Regions from separate parts of the Homo sapiens genome. Here region 1 is linked to region 2. The links are contacts of gene promoters, found by promoter capture Hi-C in blood cells and fetal thymus (Javierre and others, 2016). All regions are on one chromosome and are shown on one strand. The core of a region is centred on a gene start or on the middle of the fragment in contact, and the rest is flanking DNA. Distances in the headings are between cores, read along the strand shown. Region 1 overlaps LOC105371470 (a long non-coding RNA gene). Region 2 holds the start of SLAMF7 (SLAM family member 7).

Region 1 (3,373 bases), core at 69-2,568, 39 kb after region 2:
CCTGGTACATATGCAGAAGTGAGGCACTGAGATAGGGTGGGAGCTGCTGTTACTGAATGGGTTCTTGACCATGCAGGTAAAAGTTAGAGCACTGTCCCCAAGCCTCAAGGAGACACTGAGGACAGACCCTCCACAGGACACAACAACAGTCTGGGGTCCCAGGGGTGTCCAGCTGTAAGTCACACTGCCTCCTCTGCTCTCTGCCACACATGTCAATGGCATATGAGAGTGACAATGCAGCATCCATCCTCACTAATCCTGGAGCTCAGTGTGACATGAGGCCAGGCCAGCTGCTCTGTGTGTGCGAAAGGGAATAAACTGAGGACTGGGAAACTGCTCTGGGCCTCCACTTCACAGGACAGAAAATGCACGGCATTAGTGCCCAAACCTTGCATCACCTTGAATACACAGAAGGAACAGCAGAGGCAGGATCTGCCCACATCTGTTCCAGAACTTTGTGCTATGTAAGGCCATGTCACTTAACATCTCAGTTGATTTCCAGAACAACTCCATGAACTAAACAGGGAAGATGTTATATCAACTCCATTTCACAGGCTCAGAATGCTTAGATAACCTGCCCAAAGTCTCATCTAGTTAAGTGGTAAAGCCAAAATCCAAATCCAGTGAATTTGAGCCCAAAACTGAGTTTCCCAACCCTGCCCTGAATAGATAAAGGAATGCAAGTACGGAGCTGTGTTGTAATTACATATTTTCCCCGTAGGGGGCTCTGCAGCATACACTGAGCTTCCAGGTGTTGATCAAGAGTCCCAGAGGAGGTGGCTGTGTGCCTTTGAGGTTTCTCCCACTCCCTTGCACTCCCTTGGACCTGCTCCCCGTCTCCTCTTGCCCCAGGGCCATGACCCAGATATTCTTAAGTGCTCGAGGTGTCCACATTGCCATTATTTGTCCACCAGCCTCCCAGGCCAGACCCAGGAGGATTTGGGGGAGGCGAGAAGAGCAGCTGCAGACACCAGGCCTGAAACACTCAACAAAGTCATATTGCATAGAACAAGGCTACTCTGCTACTCAGCCTCAGCCCTGTGGCCCACACGACTGCAGCCCCAGGGGAAACTCAACTGTGCAAAGTAGGACCACACAGGCCCAGCGTGTCCCCCAGGAGAAGGCAGCCTGGACATCCCCACAGGTGGGTACCTTGCTGCTGGCTCTCCCCACTGTGTCTCCTATATATCAGGCCCTGGGATGCAAGCCACTTGACTTCTATTGGCCCTTTTCTCATCCAATAAATATGGCGACATACCAGAAACCCAGAGAATGAAGGCACAGGGTACAGCATCAGAATACCTGAGTTCGATTCCCAAATCTGCCACTTTCTAGCTCCATGTCATAGGTGTCTTATTTTCCCTTTCTAAGATTCCGTTTCCTTCCTAGAAATGAAAACTCCTGACCTGCATACTGGCAGGGCTGTTGTGAGGCTGCAGTGATGGGAAACACCCTGTGAAGGATGGAGCCTGACCATTAGCACTGCCTTGCCATTGGGATGTCAACCCAGAGAGAGAAGGGCTCTCTGGAAGACCCCACCCCTGATGGATTGGCACAACCCTATCCTCTACCCAGACTCCACCTGACACCATACCACACTAAGTAAGTGCTATCAGAATGACTATCAGCGAGGCCAAAGGGCCTCTCCCACCAGTTTTGGGCCCACCCTACCCTAGTGAGCAACCCAACCCCAAGTCCCAGCAACCCACTTCCATTGTGCCCTGGTCCTGTTGTGAGAAGCAGGCCATAGCCAGCCCAGGCCTGATTTATGGCAGACACGCCTTCTCCCCAGCCATGTGGACCTGACCAGAGAGCAGCCCCATCAACTCCACTAAAAGAGTGCCTTCGTCTAATAGGAAGATTTCCTATCACAGAATCCAAGAAAAATGTCTGTGAAGGTTCTCTGCTGGCCTTCCCATGTCCATCCTCACTCACCACCTGTCCCCCTCGCTCATTGCAGGGGAACGGCTCTGCCATAGCACCCTGAGACCTTGCACATCTCTCTCAGGCAAAGGTTTCAACCTCTGCTAAACTGGGTCTTGGCAAAATGCCTTGTGATCCACCCAGAACACGAGAGTTCAGGTGGCCTGTGAGGCACAGCCTTGAAGCCATCTCCCCTGGGAGGCTGTCATGAGACTATTTCCCCTGGCTCCTGGGGTTCTGATGCAGTATGGGACTTCTTGTCCTCAGAACACAGCTGCGGTCTCTAAGTCCTCTTTGCTGAAGGTAGAATTGGCCCCTCGGCATCTGGGTATTCCACAGCTCCCACTGCAGCCATCTGGCCCCTTTTGTTTCAATGTCATCTTTTCTGGTGTGGGACAAGTGCCCAGGGATCTGGAACCCTTGGCTACTCTTCCATTCGTTATATGAATAATCAACTGTCTGAATCTCAAAGTGGCTCAGCGTAGCATCTTTCATAGGCCTTTCTCGGTGCTGTGTGTGCTTGATACCCACCCCATTGCTTCCTTTGTAGTTTCTCCTGCTAAGATTTTTTAAATTTCTTTAAGGAATTTGATAAGAGCATCCCTCTGCATCTGCATAGGCCTTTCCAAAGCACTTTCATATGTTTTCACTCTCACAAAAAGGTATTGTTCCCATTTTAGTAATGAGGAAGCTCCAGGCCACAAGAGGAGGTTGTGGAAAAACTCAGTTCTCAGGGCCTGAAATCCCATTCTCTGACCACTACTGTCCCAAGAACTCTGCTTCAGGTGGTCTAGGGTAGGTCCTGAGGCTTGACATTTTTCAGGAGATTCTCTCTGGCAACTCTAACTTACATATCTTTAAAAACAAAAAACAAAACAGTGCGCATAAATTAGTCTTGCAAATTGCGAATGTTACTAAAGCTGTAGAAATGACTGAGAGGCTGACACTGCCTCACCCACTGCTGCCATCTCTAAGACACCCACTATAGACTTGCAGATGGTACTCCCAGGTGAGGGTGCTGCAGGAAATCCTCAGGTTAACATGGGCTCGGTAGGGCCCTGTATCCTCCCAGCTCAGGTTGCTGATCTACACGCAGGGATAAACCTGGACTCATGACACTCAAGCGACCCGAGGACCAGGTTTCCGCTTGGTAAAAGATGTCTGGGCCCCCAGCTTCTCCCATGGTTACTGTGGTGATCTCCATGGGGACCGAACGCGATATCCAGGAGATGGTCGCCACCTCCTGTCCAGAGCGATATCCAGGAGATGGTCGCCACCTCCTGTCCAGAGCGATATCCAGGAGATGGTCGCCACCTCCTGTCCAGAGCGTCTGCAGGGGCAGAATGACAGACCCTCCTAGGTCCCAGTGACCACTAGGGGTGCTGTGGTCCCTCTGGAAGTCCCTGGTCCTGCAGACACAGAACAGAAGCTTCAGGGGGTAGCCTGACTA
Region 2 (3,774 bases), core at 1,275-3,774:
AAAAATAAAAAAATAAAAAATTGCAAAATGGAGATGAAAAAGGAAAGAATCAGTGTACTTGAAGATAAACAATAGAAAATACCCAATCTGAAAACAGAGTGAAAATAGGCCAAAAAAAAAAAAAAAAAAAAAAAAAAATGGAGCCTCAGAGCCCTGTGGGAGAAAAACAAAAGATTTATAACATTCATGTCATCAGAATTTTAGGAGAGAAGCGAGAATGTGAGGCTGAAAAAAAAGTATTCAAAAAATAATGAAATTTCCCCAAACTTAGCAAAAGGTAAAAACCTACAGATTCAAGAGACTCAATGAATCACAAATAAGAGAAACCCAAAGAAATTCACACCAAGACACATTATAATCACACTTCTGAAAACTAAAGACAAACAAAAAACTTTTAAAACAGCTAGAGAAAAATGACACATTACCTACAGGGAAAACAACTTAAATGACGGCTGATTTCTCACTGGAAACCATGGAGGGGAGGAGTGTCATGACACTTTTCAAGTGTTGAAAGAAAAAAAACTGTCAACCTAGAATTTTATACCCAGGAATGAGGGTTAAATCAAGACATTCTCAGGTGAAGGAAAACTAAGATAATTTGTTATCAGCAGGCTTATCATAAAAGAATTCCTAAAGAATATCTTGAAACAGAAAGAAATGATTAAAGAAGAAAACTTGAAGGCTGGGTGTGGTGGCTCATACCTGTAATCCCAGCACTTTGGGAGGCCAAAGTTGGTGGATCACCTGAGGTCAGGAGTTTGAGACTAGCCTGGCCAACATGGCGAAACCTGATCTCTACTAAAAGTACAAAAAGTAGGTGGGCATGGTGGCATGAGCCTGTAGTCCCAGCTACTCAGGAGGCTGAGGCAGGAGAATCGCTTGAACCCAGGAGGCGGAGATTGCAGTGAGCCAAGATCATGCCACTACACTCCAGCCTGTATGACAGAGCAAGACTTCGTCCAAAAAAAAATAAAAAGAAGGAAACTTGAAACATTAGAAATAAAGAAATAACAATGAAAAGAGTTAAAATATGGGTAAATGTAATGGATTGTCCTTCTCCTCTTGAGTGTTCTGAATTATGTTCAACAATTGAAGCAAAACTTATAATCTTACCGATATGGTTCTCAATGAATATAGACAATATATTTAAGACAAGTATAAAGATAGACTAATAAAGAAACCTAATATAGGTAAGTTTTCTATACCTAGTTCAACTGGTAAAATGTCAACACTGATAGGTAGATCAAAAGTTATGTATGTAAAATGCAATATGTACAGCAACCAGTAAAAAAACTCTTCAAAAAGATACATTATAGATAAATCAAAATGGAATTATAAAAAATATTCCAGTAACACACAGGATGGCCAGGAAAGTGAAACAGAGGAACAAAATAAACAAACAAAAGCCCAGAAGAACAAAGAGAAAATAATAACATGGCAAACTTAAGCTCTGATATATAAATAATTACATTATGTAAGTCAGTTAAATAGAATAGATAGCTCCAGAATATACCCACACAAGTATAAGTGCTGATTTTTGATAAAGATACAAAAGTAATTCAATGTAGGAAAGATCATCTTTTCCATCACATGGTAGTAGAACAATTGAACACCCACAGGCAGAAGAAAAAAAAACACGCACATTGTAATCATACTTCTGAAAACCAAAGGCAAACAAAAAACTTTTAAAACAGCTAGAGAAAAATGACACATTACCTATAGGGAAAACAATTTAAATGATGGCTGATTTCTCACTGGAAACCATGGAGGGGAGGAGTGTCATGACACTTTTCAAGTGTCGAAAGCAAAAAAAAACTGTCAACCATATTACCTGATATGGTTCTCAATGAATATAGACAATATATTTAGGTGAATCTCAACCTAAACTTCACACCTTACATTAAAACAGGATCATACATTTAAATGTAAAACATAAAACTATAAAACTTTCAGGAGAAAACCTTTGGACCCTAGTGTGGGTAGAAAAAAAACTGATAAGTTGAATTTCATCAAAATTAAAATTTTTGCTCTGCCAAAGACCCCGTTAAGAAGATGAAAAGACAGGCTACAGACCAAGAGAAAATATTTGTAAACCACATATCTGACAAATGACTCTTATACTTGGAACATATAAGGAATTGTCAAAGCTCAACAGTAAAAAAAATAAAGAATCTGATTATAAAATGGACAAAAGACATAAATAGACATTTCACCAAGGAGGATATGGATATATAGATGGCAAATAAGCACATGAAAAGATGTTCAACATTATTAGGCTTTAGGGAAATGCAAATTAAAGCCACAATGAGGTATCACTACAGCACCTATTAAAACAGCTAAAATATAAAATGGGAATATACCAAATGCTGATGAAGATGGGGAGCAAATAGATCTCTCATAGATTGCTGGTGGCAAGGTAAAATGCTCTATTCACTCTGAAAATAATTTAGCAATTACTCAATCTCACATGTCTGCGGCGTGACCCCTCCTGCTTCTTTAAATATCAGCTGGGGAAGAGGTCTGAGTAATACCTAAGAGGGAAGTGGCTTCATTTCAGTGGCTGACTTCCAGAGAGCAATATGGCTGGTTCCCCAACATGCCTCACCCTCATCTATATCCTTTGGCAGCTCACAGGTGAGTCCGGCCGGATTCTCTTCCACTCTCCTGTCTACCCCATCCTGAATAGTTCCAGGTTTCTTGTTCCACTCTGGGCCTCTGGCTCAACTCGGGAGGCTCTGTGTTCTCATCTAACATTTGCTTTTTATCAATCTCTGATCTCTGATTCTCAGGTCAGGAAGAGACTAGAGAGAGGGGGAAAAATGGCTCTGGGAACTGACTCCCCTGTTGACTGTCCCAGGGATGAAGGAGCTGAAAGAAGTGGTGCTGGGTATCAGAGACCATTTTTCTAATCCAGGTTCTGCCATGAGTTAGATAAGGAATGTTAAAGTTTTCCTGGGCCTCAGAAACTTTATCTTCTAGCCTTCTCTCCTTTTGAGGGCAACTTTAAGAACAAGATGATACTATACAGGTATGTATTTATTTACTTATAAATGTATTTATAAAATTGGTTATGCATAACAGTAATATAAATGGAAAGAATCACTTGAATTTTCTTTCCTTACTCAAGCAATGTAATCAGTCTCTACTTAGAGAACCAACTCATACCATAGGCACTTTATGTTTAATCCCATGGAGGACAGAGGACAGTTCTCCACCTGTCACTGGTATTCTAGTCTTTGAAGATTTTTCTATCCTAAGGGCTCTCAGAAAGGATCAGGAGCCCTATAAGTGAGAAATATCTCTTCTGTCATCAATCTCATGGAGTACTACCATGAGGTCCCCCTATAAGGACTTCACATAACTGCTTCATTATGTGTATCTGAGCCTGCCTGGAGTGATCTGCCCAAGACCACGCAGGCAGCTGGTGCCCCCAATATTTTCCCCTGCATCGCTAAGTGGTCAGCATCAGCAGACTCTTACCCACTTTGAATTCATCAGAAGTTTGTATTTTTGAGAGGTACCTGGGTCTAACCAGGTGGTTCTGGAATAGGCCCTCACTTTAAAAAAAAAAAACAAAAAAAAAACTCCCTGAACGGAAATGATGAGCAGAAATAGAACTTGAGGGAGATAAGGTGGAGGGGTTGGGGAAAATTATAGAGACTTTGAAAGCTACAGGTGTCCATCTGAAATCAGTCAGCGAAAGAGCACAAGTATGAAAAACTGCCATGCAGGTCCCCCTCTGCCCTCCTCCAGAGGCAGCCTGTGTAGTGTACC

What was found. The method cuts DNA at HindIII sites, captures the fragments that hold promoters and counts their contacts. A CHiCAGO score of 5 or more calls a contact.
Region 1: a contact is called between a fragment that was not itself captured here and the fragment with the promoter of SLAMF7 in region 2, in 1 of 17 cell types (total B cells). The highest score is 7.3, in total B cells.

What each region holds. Positions count from the first base shown.
Region 1 is chr1:160,776,945-160,780,317 of GRCh38, forward strand. All of the region lies in intron 1 of LOC105371470 (a long non-coding RNA gene), which reads right to left. Among named protein-coding and RNA genes, the nearest start is that of LY9, 18 kb to the right of the region's middle. RefSeq lists enhancers at 469-518, 839-908. The HindIII fragment of the contact is 4,063 bases long and covers 1-3,350 here.
Region 2 is chr1:160,736,723-160,740,496 of GRCh38, forward strand. It overlaps SLAMF7 (SLAM family member 7), which reads left to right and starts at 2,525. Exons shown (of 7, transcript NM_021181.5): 1 at 2,525-2,634. The coding sequence starts at 2,580. LOC124904440 (a long non-coding RNA gene) reads right to left here and starts at 2,437. Exons shown (of 2, transcript XR_007066687.1): 1 at 2,361-2,437. The HindIII fragment of the contact is 11,353 bases long and covers 1-3,774 here.